3 separate regions of the Homo sapiens genome follow, and regions 1 and 3 are each linked to region 2. The links are contacts of gene promoters, found by promoter capture Hi-C in blood cells and fetal thymus (Javierre and others, 2016). All regions are on one chromosome and are shown on one strand. The core of a region is centred on a gene start or on the middle of the fragment in contact, and the rest is flanking DNA. Distances in the headings are between cores, read along the strand shown.

What was found. Contacts are between HindIII fragments. The CHiCAGO score rates a contact against its expected background, and 5 or more counts as called.
Region 1: a contact is called between a fragment that was not itself captured here and the fragment with the promoter of FLG in region 2, in 2 of 17 cell types (total CD4 T cells and activated CD4 T cells). The highest score is 6.3, in total CD4 T cells.
Region 3: a fragment that was not itself captured here is called in contact with the fragment with the promoter of FLG in region 2 in 5 of 17 cell types (total CD8 T cells, naive CD8 T cells, non-activated CD4 T cells and 2 more); the score reaches 5.6 in total CD8 T cells.

What each region holds. Positions count from the first base shown.
Region 1 is chr1:152,454,450-152,459,106 of GRCh38, reverse strand. No RefSeq gene overlaps it. Among named protein-coding and RNA genes, the nearest start is that of CRNN, 43 kb to the right of the region's middle. RefSeq lists an enhancer at 520-589. The HindIII fragment of the contact is 3,652 bases long and covers 1,007-4,657 here.
Region 2 is chr1:152,323,790-152,327,974 of GRCh38, reverse strand. It overlaps FLG (filaggrin), which reads left to right and starts at 2,736. Exons shown (of 3, transcript NM_002016.2): 1 at 2,736-2,786. The region is part of intron 3 of CCDST (cervical cancer associated DHX9 suppressive transcript); the gene reads right to left. The HindIII fragment of the contact is 6,016 bases long and covers 1-3,304 here.
Region 3 is chr1:152,070,903-152,075,093 of GRCh38, reverse strand. No RefSeq gene overlaps it. Among named protein-coding and RNA genes, the nearest start is that of TCHHL1, 16 kb to the left of the region's middle. The HindIII fragment of the contact is 1,328 bases long and covers 1,204-2,531 here.

The sequences.
Region 1 (4,657 bases), core at 1,583-4,082, 130 kb before region 2:
AGAGATGAAGGGCTGCCCCAGACACAGCCTTGGGGCCCAAGATTCATACTGCTGTTAGAGGGGCACAAACTTGCTGGGTTTTGACTCTGGGAGGAAAACCACGTGTGGGGTCTTAAGCGGGGCCCTGTGTCTTTGGGGATTCACATTTGTTGCACCCAACTATACTCTGGAGCTTCAGAAATCAATGGAAGTTGCTCTGGATTCAAAAATCAATAGAAGTTGCTCCCTTCCCTGGAGATGCCCACGGTCAACCTTTGTCTTTTGGAGTCAGGCTAACCTGAAGTTGAATCCCAGCTCTACCACCATTGAGTTATGACCTTGGACAAATCACGTAAATTATCTGAGTTTACACTTCTATACATGGCAATATTAGTGGCCACTTTTCAGCAGACTGCCTACACACAGTGTGAATTTGAGAAATACTAGTTCCCTTACCGTTCCGTCTTCCATCTCTGAAACTTCGCTGGAGCTCCATCTTCTTGAGACATGGCGATGCATTTCAGGAGTTTCCCTGAAGAGGGAGCCAGAGCACCACGGAAATCCTAATTGTTGGCTGACAGCAGTCAGCGCAGGGAAGCTTATGGGCACAGCCAGTCAGCAAGTCTTTTGGGTCCAGACCTCGGCTTCCTCTCTCTCAATGCCTTCTATCAAAACCCCCCCACCTTGTGCCAAGTGCTGCTCACAGTCTGCCAAGCAGCTCCCCTATCTCAGGCTCTACCTAGTCAAAATGATCTTTCAATCAAAATTCCAATTTTCTTTTCAGTCACTTTATATAGCTGTTGTCATAGTAAGTGACAACTTGGTTTAATAAAGCCAGTTGTGCCAGGATGTTGCTAGGTAATATTTGCTACTTCTAGGTAACGTGTATATTTTAACAGGTGCCTTCTGATGATACATATGGGGACAGGTAGGCATTCCAAATGCTGAGATCCAGTGCCACTCACCTTTAGACCACCCTGCATTCCATGGGCTATACTTAATATTTGGTGCTTACCCACAGTAAGCTTACATTAGGTTGAACACATAAAATTGTTCATAATCCACCATTTTACCTACAAAACAACAATTTCATATGGTCCAAAATAATATTTCACTTCTTCACCCCCACTCAATTTCAGTGTAGACTCCAGGTCTTTTTTTTTACTTTCCCCATCACATTTTTGCCCTCAAGCACTGTTTTCACTCTTGTTATATTCCCCCCCTCCAGCCCTACCTCAGTTTCCAGTTCCTACACCTTGCCTAGGCCACACCTCACCCTTGCAGGGCATCTCCCTGCTGAGGCAGCTGCTGTGATGGGATTGGTCCCACCTGCCATCTCCAAAATGAGCACAACAGGGCTTTGTCCAGCCAAGAACATAGGGCTCCAGCTCCTCCCATACCACAATATCCCATGAGCACTCTCTCAGTCTCCCAGCAAACTTCTCTGCCCTCGCAGACTCTGGAGTGCCAGTCCCATCGAGTAACTATCTGAAACCCTTTGAGTCTAATTGTCTTCAGATGTGAAATGTAAAAGGACAATGCACACCACATAAGGTTGACATAAGGAATGACTGGCGTAATGGTTGTAAAAAGCCTAGCACTGTGCCTGGCAGATGGCAGTCATTCTGCAAGGTACAGTTGCCCTCTCAGAACCTAGGCATGGTGTACAAGACCAAAGCCCCCAAAGCAACTCATTGTCCTGTCCACCTCTTCCTAAAATGCCATGTTATTGTTGCACCCCCATAGGCACCATTTTGTCAAGTGTGGTCTGGTCCTATTCTCCAAGCACTCTGTATCACACACTCCTGTGATTGCCACAGCATGGGGCAGGGCTGGCCTGGTAACTCCCTAAGGGACTAAGTCCTGCCTCACCAACAGTCTTCTATTCTGTCCTGGGCCCCTGAGATTCTGCCCTTCCACACAACAAGAGTAGTGACTGTGATACCAGAACCACATGACATGTTAAATAAAGAGGCTCTGTAAAGAGGAGCAGAGAGATGTGTGCCCCGGAGGGGAGGGAGGTGGTCAGGCTGGGGGTGAAGAGTGGTGGGACTTGGCCCTAGGAACTCCTGCCCTTTTGTCCTCCTTCCTGCCATACCCTCTCCTGTGTGTTCTTAGCATCTCACCCCCACTCCTCATCTCTCCAGTTCTAAAACAGTCTGTCAAGGCTTCTGGAAGTGGAGAGAGACCCAGGCTGGTTATGGAGGGATTATAAGGAACTGCTAAACACAAAAGACAATGGTCAGCCTCACCCAGACAAAGGCAAATGCCTGTCTTAGTGGGGAGATTGCATGTTCATCCAATTTGAAATTTTAAACAGATGTATAACTCTAAATACTTTAGAATTACAATGTTAGGTTGTGATTTTGAAAAATACCAGAAAAAATGGTATTATGCTAGCAAAAATATAAAGTGGAAATTTCCTCTTCCAATGGGAATGGAGTTACAGGGATGGATTTATCCTGTAACCTGAAACAACTACATAATCTGACAAGCTATAGTTGGCCTTCCTTATACTTGACTTCTACATCCATGGATTCAACCAACCATGGATCAAAAACATTTGAAAAAATACAATAAAAATACAATTTAAAAATACAGTATAACAACCATTTACATAGCATTTACATTATATTAGGTATTATAAGTAATCTAGAGATGTTTTCATGTCTACAGGAGGATGTGCATAGGTTATATGCAAATATCTTGCCATTTTACGTGAGGGATTTGAGCATCTCCAGATTTTGGCATCTTCAAGGGTCTTGGAACAAATCCCTCGTGAATACCAAGGAATGGCTATATAAAAAGAACAATAGTTTTCAAGACCATGAACCTGAAGCAATGCAGGACCATGATGTTTGCAAGATGAAACAAAATGAGCTGAACCCTAGGACTGTCCTGGCCTCCTCCCGGCAAAGGGTTTCCAGGCTGTGACTCAGGGAGCGGAAACTGGCAGAGTCCAGTGGACTCTCAGGATTGAATAAATGGAACTGGATCCTAAAAGACCAAGGCAGCTAGAGTTTTCAAGACAGACTACTAGCCTAGCTGTGGGGAAAAGAAAGAGAGATCAGACTGTTACTGTGTCTATGTAGAAAGAAGTAGACATAAGAGACTCCATTTTGTTGTGTACTAAGAAAAATTCTTCTGCCTTGAGATGCTGTTAATCTGTAACCCTAGCCCCAACCCTGTGCTTGCAGAGACCTGTGATGTGTTAACTCAAGGTTTAATGGATTTAGGGCTATGCAGGATGTGCTTTGTTAAACAAGTGCTTGAAGGCAGTATGCTTGTTAAAAGTCATCACTACTCTCTAATCTCAAGTACCCAGGGACACAATACACTGCGGAAGGCCGCAGGGACCTCTGCCTAGGAAAGCCACATATTGTCCAAGGTTTCTCCCCAAGTGATAGCCTGGGATATGGCCTCATGGGAGGGGAAAGACCTAACCATCCCCCAGCCCAACACCCGTAAAGGGTCTGTGCTGAGGAGGATTAGTAAAAGAGGAAGGCCTCTTTGCAGTTGAGATAACTCTGAGGAAGGCATCTGTCTCCTGCTCATCCCTGGGCAATGGAATGTCTCGGTGTAAAACCCAATTGTATGTTCCATCTACTGAGACAGGAGAAAACCACCTTATGGCTGGAGGTGAGACATGCTGGTGGCAATACTGCTCTTTAATGCACCAAGATGTTTATGTATTGGCACATCAAAGCACAGCACCTTTTTCTTAACCTTGTTTATGACACAGAGACATTTGTCACATGTTTTCCTGCTGACCTTCTCCCCACTATTACCCTATTGTCCTGCCACATCCCCCTCTCTGAGATGGTAGAGATAATGATCAATAAATACTGAGGGAACTCAGAGACCAGTGCCGGCGCGGGTCCTCCGTATACTGAGCGCCCGGTCCCCTGGGCCCACTTTTCTTTCTCTATGCTTTGTCTCTGTGTCTCTTTCTTTTCTCAGTCTCTCGTCCCACCAGACGAGAAACACCCACAGGTGTGGAGGGGCAGGCCACCCCTTCACCTAGCAAGGCAAGAGCTAGAGAGAGAAGGGGGCAGGGGAGCCCTGACAATCAGGAACAGCCTCCCCTCAGATCCTTAGCTGAGTTATGATCAGCACCTGTATGTGAGGAAACTACCTGAGGCAGAGGATGGACCTCCCTGCAGGAATGAAAGCGAATAATCCCAGGATCACCCCGAGTTAGGAAGAACCCCTGTTCCTAACAGCTAGAGTAGAAAACATCATAATTTATTGGATACTGGGTAGAGTACTCAGAAAGGTTTTGCCTCAGTGGTGTAGTAAAATTGGTCCTAAACTAAACACTGCTCTGGTGCCACCCATCATATCTTAAAAAGCAAAATTTGAAGGACCAAACTGTTTCCAAGTAACTTAACTTTTGTTTCTTATTTATAGAAACAAAAATATATCCAGCCATTCAAATGGTAAAATTCACAATGTGTGGTATCCATAAAAAATTACCAGGCATGAAAAGAAGGAAAATATAATACATAATAAAGAGAGGAAGTCCTAACCAGAGCAAGCAGGCAAGAGAAAGAAATAAAAGGCATCCAAATAGGAAGACAGGAGGTCAGACTATCTCTGCAGGTGATATAATTTTATACCTAGAAAATCCCATAGTCACAGCCCAAAAGCTAGATCTGATAAACAACTTCAGCAAAGC
Region 2 (4,185 bases), core at 1,487-3,986:
TTAATGCAGCCTAATATCACATTATCTTTTTGGCTATGGCATCACTCTGCCACTGCCACAATATTGCTTTTTTTACTCATGTCTTCTACCCTATCCTTGTAAAGTGTAATTTGGAACTGGAGTCAGAATTTTACTTTTTCAATAATATTCATTTATCAGATTTGAGCCATTGGTGCAACATGATAAAATCTTCTTGAATCCTCAGTCTATCCTAAAAATATTTGCCATCTATCCAAATTTTCACCTAAGTTATTGATAAAATACAATGAGCACAACATGGTCAGGAAAAAAGTCCTAGAGCAGACCACTAAACAATACCCTCCATATTGACATAATTCTGCAAGATTTGGGGTCTTTTGGCCCCAAAGAAGGTCATATCCAAGATTGCCTCATTCTTGACACTCTCTCAATGCTACCTTCTTCACTCACTCATAGTCCATGGTCTAGTCTTTCTGCTGATCCTGCAATGATTTCCACAGTTAAGTTCACCCAGACATAGGTACTTTGAGAGAAATCACTGTTTAAAACATTAAAAATATAAATAAGGTTAACAAAAAAAGGATAAAAGTTCACACCCAGAACAATATGCCATGGTGGAAATAATGTGGGAGTTGGAGTCTGAATAACCTCAGATTAAATCCTAGTTCTGTAACTTACTTGCTTGGTGACCTTGGGTGCCTTATCAGTATCAGTTCCCTCATCTCTAAAATAGAGGAATAATAATGACCTCAAAGGGTTGTCCTGATGATTAAAATTAATACACGCAAAATCTTAGCACATTCCTAGCACATAATGGGTATACAATATAGATTACTATCATTATTACATCATGGTAGAGACAAAAATGCAATAACTACTGGCATAAAAAAATTAGACCCAAGAAGAAAAAAGGAGAAAATGAATATCTGTGTTCTACAGATGTTAACCAATACTCCACAAAAGAAAGAATCAATGGTCTAATAAGGTTAAGAACGAGGACATTAAACACAGTTTTAAAAACTCGGGCATATTTTTATCTCTTTGACTCTGAACAAGATTGGCACACCCTTGCATCCCTTATTTGATCATGTCCCAGGCATTGCTGTAGGGCCCAAGGACACAAAGGATGACTCAGACCCAGTCAATGCTAGGGTGAGAAGAAACACAGGATTCAAGGCACCAGGGGGCAGGGGGCACACATATAAATAAGTAATTAATATAAAATATCACCAGTGCTATTGAGAGGTAAATACAGAGTATGTGAGGGAACACTGATAAATCTGGAGATGTCAGGTAAGGCTTTATGCAGGAGGTGGTAATTTTGAAGAATCTTAAAAGATAAAGAGAAGTTAAGGATGAGGGTCTCTCAAGTCAAGGTAGTGGAGGATAGCACGCAAAGATTTTGAACAGTAGTGGACCAATATGGGCTCGTCCAAGAAATATTGCTCATTCTAGAGTGACTTTTCCATGAGATACAGGTAATAAGAGGGACAATTGAAAAGATACAGATTCATGCCTATTGTAAAGGGGCTTGTACGTCAGGTAAAAAAGTCTGAAATTCTGCAGGCAAGAAGAAACCAGCACAGCGAATGACATAAGATGGTAAGCCAGCTTAATAGTAGAGAGAGAGGCTAGTTACGACACTTTTTTTTCTTTACCAATACCCAATTGAAAGATGGTCAGGTCCAGAACTAAAATTATAGCACTGGAGGTAGAGAATAGGCCTACATAACAAAATCTAAGCCTGAGTATAATTGATACGATGTGACATGAGCATGAGGGGTTAAGGAAAAGGAGAAATGAAAATGACTTTGTCTAGCTTGAGACACCCAGTGTGTGGGGGCATCATTACCAATATATGGGCTTCTGGAGGATAGTACATTTTGGTAGGAGGCACAATGTAAGTTCAGTTTTCAACACTATGGATTGAGATAACCATGGGACATCCATATGGAGATGCAATCTGCTCAACATAACAGTGTGTATATCATAAGACAGACCAGGGATAGGAGTCCCCTGTATATTTATGGCAATAAAAGAAAATTCATGGTTTAAGAAGGAAGAGTATGTGGAACATGTCTCTGATGCCACGATGTAATAACCTTGAAAACAAAGTAAAATTACACTAATGAGTCTTGCCTAATTAAACTCATGCTCCTAGTGATCACCACTTCTAGTTCAATTGTTCACATTCTTGCTCTGCTTTGAAAAATTAAAATTAAATTTGCCTATCCTCTACTGACCATAATTTCTAGAAGACGGCATTCATCTCATGGCAAGTTCTTCAGTACCCAAAGATGGAATACATAGATTAAAAAAGAACATATATGTAGATGCTTGTGATGTTTTCCTATCATAAATTGAATTTCAAGTTCTTATAAACGTATTAATATGTCCTACTCTTCTAGAGACAAGGATCAGGAAGTGTATTTATCAATAGATATTTACCAAGCACCTGTCAAGCCAAAGTGGGGTTACAGAAAAGTAGGTATGGGCCCTGCACACAAACAACCTGTATTAGCCAAAGGGACCCTTCCATAAAATTTCCAATATGTAAACCCAAATTTGGAACTTGCTGAAACAAGTACAGATGAGTACGTGAGGAAGCTGGGAAGTAAACACAGGTTGCTGGAGAAATAGAGGTGGAGATATGGGTGGATCTAGGTTTGGTTAGGAATGAATCAGACCATCCCACAGAGGGTGGCTCCTCCCTGCATGGGGCCTGCTATAAAAGGGCCATTATCTCAGCCTTCAGTACCCAGCAGGCTCCTTCAGGCTACATTCTATTTGCTCTTTTGGTGAACAAGGTAAGAAGGAATACATTTAATTTTGTCTACTTACTATTAACCAAGGTGGAAATCTGAATGTATGTGTACTGTAAGGCAAAAGGTTCTGGAAGTTTAGGGTTTTTCTCTTTCTTTTTAGTGGCACTGTCACTAAAAGGTTTATTTCTATATAGAAGGAAAATGAGGGCATAAATTTGCTTTCCATGGAGCTACTCAATACTCTGTATTGTTAGATTGTCCATTTATTCATTTACTTAACAAATATGTATTAACTACCTTCTACTTGGTCTTGGCTCTATCTATGCAGCAGTGAACTATATAAACTCCTAGCAGCTTACCTTTAATAGGGGGAAACATTTAGTAAACAACAATAAACAAATAAGATAATTTTAAATAGTGATAAGAACAATGAAGAAAATAAAAGAGTGATGTAGTAGAGCAGGGGTGTCCCGTCTTTTGGCTTCCCTGGGTCATAATGGAAAAAGAATTGTCTTGGGCCACACATAAAACACACTGACACTAATAATAGCTGATAAGCTTAAAAAAAAACTCGTAATGTTTTAAGAAAGTTTACAAATTTGTGTTGGGCCACATTCAAAGCTGTCCTGGGCCACAGATTGGACAAGCTTGTAGTAAAGTGATGGGAGGGAGGAGGAAAGTGCTTTAAATTAGATGGCCAGGGGAAGACCTCTCTAGGGAATTATCTTTGAGTTGAGATCTTAAACACAAAAGAAACTAGCCAAGGCAAAGGGCAAGATTCTAAGCAAGAGTAAACTTGTCCCAAAGAGCAAAAAGAAGCTAGTGTGCCTTAGAGCATACATAGTTAAAAAGAGGACCAGTGGTATATGGTGATGTCAGAGAGCTAGACAGCGTAGCTCATGTAAAGAGGGGCACAGTAGAATTAAAACAGTACATGTTAGATTTTAGCATGTACTTAAAGGGGTATTAAGCAGGAGGAGTAAGATAATCTATGTTTTTAAAAGACCACTCTGGGCTGCTACGTGGAAAACAGGAATATAGGAAGGCAAGAGCAGGAGCAGGGAGAGACTGCATTCTTTTATGTGAAAGATGATGGAAATAATAGAAATAACGAGAAATAACTGTTTGCTCATACCAAAATCTAGAAGTTATCCATGATTCCTGTTTTCTCATCACACTGATTCATCACCACGTCCAGTCAACTCTGCCTACAAACCTGCCAAATCTATCCATTTATCCCCCTCTCTGCCATTATCATCCTAGTCCAGTCTACCTTCATCTCCCAACACTGACTATTATGTTATCTGAAAATATAACAATTTATTCATCCATTTGTCTATGGGTAGATACTTGGGTCTCTTCCATTTTGGGGGGTATTATAAATAATAGGGCTATGCACTTTTTTGTGTACTACTTTTGGTTACACATATGTACATATTTC
Region 3 (4,191 bases), core at 618-3,117, 250 kb after region 2:
ATGCTTAATATGTATCTGTTTACTATTTAACATTGAAGCTGGAATAGTACCAAATATGAGAGACACTTTATTCATCTATTAACTTAACAATTGACCACCTATTAAACTATGTATACAGGGTATATGGTGATTAACAAAATAGACAATTCATAATAGCTTTCACCGAGTTACATATTGAAGTCAGATCCTTAATTTTTTTATGCCCACTGAATAAAACCTCCTCATTCATGTGCTCAATTTTTGCCAAAACTATAAGAAATACATATGTGAAACTTACCACTTCTTTGGCTGTCAAAATGCTGTTGAGAACTTTATCCATTTTATCATGCAGTACTCACCTTTATAAAGTCCCCATGAGATATTCTTTTTAGAATTCAGTCCTGAGAAATGCTCTCTTTTGCCACAAAAAGCGTACATAGTTATCTTACTTTCTGATTGTGAAGGCCATAAAACTGATGGTGTTTTCCTTTGGGAATTGCTGTCAGAAATCCCTGAGCCAAGAATGAAGAGTAATAACAGCAATTGTGTTGACCCTCATGGTTGACAAATTTGAATTTTCCTTTTTCCTAGTTCTTATTTTCTACCTTTTTTATTTAACCACTTTACTGTATATGATAAGCTGCTTCAAATCTATATGAAGAGGCTGTAAATGAATAACACTAAAAAGGGAAAATTAAGTCTCTCTGAAAGACTATAAGTAGTGGATAAAGACATACTTTGGTTTATATACAGTGATATATGTTTCTAGTTTTACAACCACTCTTAATGCCAGGAATATATTTGTCAGAATCTAGGTTAGGAAGGTGGAAGAAAGAGCCACGGACATTCAGACACCAGTCAGAGATATCACACCCTGCAAGGAGAACCCAGAATTTTACATAAGGACCCAAATGCATCTTCCAACAGCCACATCCACTCTGTCCTTAGAGTCAATCTACCTCATCAGGATTTGCCATCACTAATCAATCAGTCAATAAGCAGTTAATGACCACACACTGTGACTCCCCCATTGGCAACCTTTAGTTCTTTTTTGGAACAATAAACAAATAATCACTAATGGAACCCAGACGCATTTCAAGTGTTAAGTAGTTAAGAAGAAGAACAAAATTTGATTTCTACCCCCAAGTAGCTCACAATATAATTAAGACAAGACCTGCTCATGAAACAACTGGAGAGCACACAACTCAGGGCATGTATAAAGCTTCATCATCCAACTCCTGCCAAATGCCTCAGTGCAGGCCTGGCTGGGCATGGCACCCATAATCAGTGTAGAAACTTTTTTTTCAGGGGGGCAAAATATGGTAGTTAGAGTTGTTGATTTGTTTTTCAACAAATATTTACTACATGACTACCACCTGGTAAGCAATTTCTAGGTGTTGGGAATAAAGCGGTGAACAAAGCAGACCAAGTTCCCGCCCTCATGTTTCTACATTCTAATGGGGAAAATAGAAAATAAACAGATAGACAAACAATTGTATACTAACTCATGTGGGATAAATGTTAGGGAGAGTAAAAAGCAGAGTAGGAGGGTAGGGAGGGAGTCAGGGGAAGTGGGAGTGTTGCTGTTTAAGAGAGGAAGGTCAGATGACACCCGAACAGAGACCTGCAGAAGGTGAGAAAGGAAACCATGCACTTCAGAAAAGAGCACTTCACAGAGGAAACGGCACGTACTAAGGCCTGGAGATGGGCATGCCTAGCACATTCAAGGAACAACAAGGAGGATAGTATGGTAGGAATGTCATAAGCAATGATGGTGACAGTGGGAAAAGAGGAGGTCAGCGAAGTGTGGACCCAACCAAGTCACCAGGGAAGGCTCCCAGGAGAAGATGGAGCTTGGCCAGCAGGGATGGGCCTGGTTCCTCTCAGGCCGAAAGGACCAGCATTAACAAAGGCATGGAGGCAGGCGAGAGGGTGTGGTGCTCAGAGAGCCAGGAGTACAGTCAGTCCTATTCCAGATATGGGCAAACAGGAGAGAAGCCTGGATGGTGAGGAGGGCCTGTGATGGAGTCTCCTAAAAACAGCCATAAACCTTATTTCTTGAGGGCTTGTCAAAGCACTGAGATAGGAGTTGCAACCCCAGCACTGTCCTTTCCACAAGGACCCATCCTAGGCACCATTTTAAGGAAAGAAAGTAAAAATAGAGAAGAGAATTTGAAGAAAAGATGGAATTCTTCCATCACTATCGATATATGTCTGGGTGTGTATGTTGCCTAAAGGGGCCAGCAGGCTTCATGACAACATTAGGATTGTCCAGAACCTTCAGAAAATATCACATGCATTTCTTCCTGACCTCCACAAACCACTGAAGGAGAAACCGGGGAATGTTTCAGAGCCAACTCTGAGGGTGGCTGATGACACACAACTACCCCTGAAGGGACCCCCAAGAAGGTGGACAGGAGTTTCTTTGAGGTCCATGTCTGGGCAAGTGGAGCATGAGGATGAGGCTACCTGGAGGCTGAGACAGGGAGCTTGAGGCAGACAGGAAGCCTCTCAGGAGCAATGCTTCTTTGCTGAGCCCTTTAGATCAAGCTTAAAGCTCAGGCGTTTTTGTAAAGCCATGAGAATATTCTGGTTTCCACTGGGTGGGTTGAGGTGGTTTTGAAACACAGAATCTGAAACTTGCCCAGCCGAGTTACTAGCTCTATTTGAGTAAACTGCAGGACAATAATTTTTCTCAAACAAGCGTTTAGTTAACTGTTCCTCACCATTCCCCTCACTTCTCCATGATTCTATTCCAGGCCTGGGAGTGGTGTGGAATCAGATCAAGGAGTTCATGTGGTTTCTGGTCTCAAGAAGCATATGATCTGGCCCAGGAGATGAGGCTAAACCACAGAAGAAAACCATGTGGAGACTTGCGTACCATGTCCACCTTGGTTTTCTCTACTTCTAAAGACGGAAAAGCTCAGAAAGAAAAACACCAAACTGATAATGGTCATTGCCTCTGAGAAAAGTAAAAGGGAATCAGGAGAGACAGTAGTAGTCAAAGAAGTCTTAGATGTCATCAAGTAATGTTTCAATTTTTTCAAGGATCAGGAACGTATGTATTATTTGTGTATAAATAAAAATTACTTTGAGATCTATAATTACTTCCATATGTTTTAATCACAAACAAGAAAATCATACCCCATACTGATTTGGGTCTTACTTAAAATCCTTAACAATCATAGTTTCAGAAAAAGGTCCTGATACATAAGGAAAATCAGTTAAATGTTAACATTCTTTGGCCACTGGGTTTATTATCTTCTTCTAAGAAAGACACAAGGGATGAGAATTTTCTGCTTTTTTCCATTTTCTGATCAAGAAAAGCTTGACTGAGCTGACCAAGAACATGTCAAGGATCTGAGAGTCCCCCGCCATGCCCCAGTTCATTCAGTTACATCCCTTCCTAATTGGGAACATGTTTAGGGGAGCCTACATTTCTGTAATTACTGGCCCCAGTGTATTTTTAAAAGCCTCATTCAGATGGAACAAATTCTTTGCATTTAATCATGCTGAACCTCATAATAAACATAATAACTGGGATTTGCACGGTGCTTTTCTTCAGAATGAGCTTAAAACACATTATAATCCAGTGCTTCCCTGAGCCACACCGTATCCTTATGACACATCCAAGAAATGGTGACCACTAGATCCCACTGCTGAGGCTCAGAGGGATTTGGTAAGATGCCTGAGGTCACAGAGCAGGCAAAGTCCAAATGTGCACTCAGGATAGCCACCCCAGCAGCAACTCCTCCAATCACCAAGCTTCTCCTACAGACAACTTGATGCCTTCAAATGACTCTGGCAGTCTCCTCTTATCTGTAATCATGGCTGTGGACACTTTCCAGGAAACTCCTCCCAGGCAGTGTCAAGACAAACCTTGACGCTGAGGGGCAAAGACCACGTCATCAGAAGAGTGTCACCACAGAAGTCATTCTGTCACCATTGCACATGGACTCTGGGTCAGAAAATGTCCTGTTTGTACAGGCAGTGTGGGTGGTAAGCATGGGCCCTGGCACCAAGCAGGCCTCCCCATTGTGTGACTATGGCAGGCTATCGCCTGGTGTGGACACACAGTAAGCGTCTCTTTCCCTTCTCATAGCAAGAACTGGATGCATTCATTTTCAATCTACTTGTCTTTTATTTTCCCTGATAGAAACTAATAAATTTTTAGGTAAAAGAACGAAAGGGAAGATCAAACTGAATGGAGAC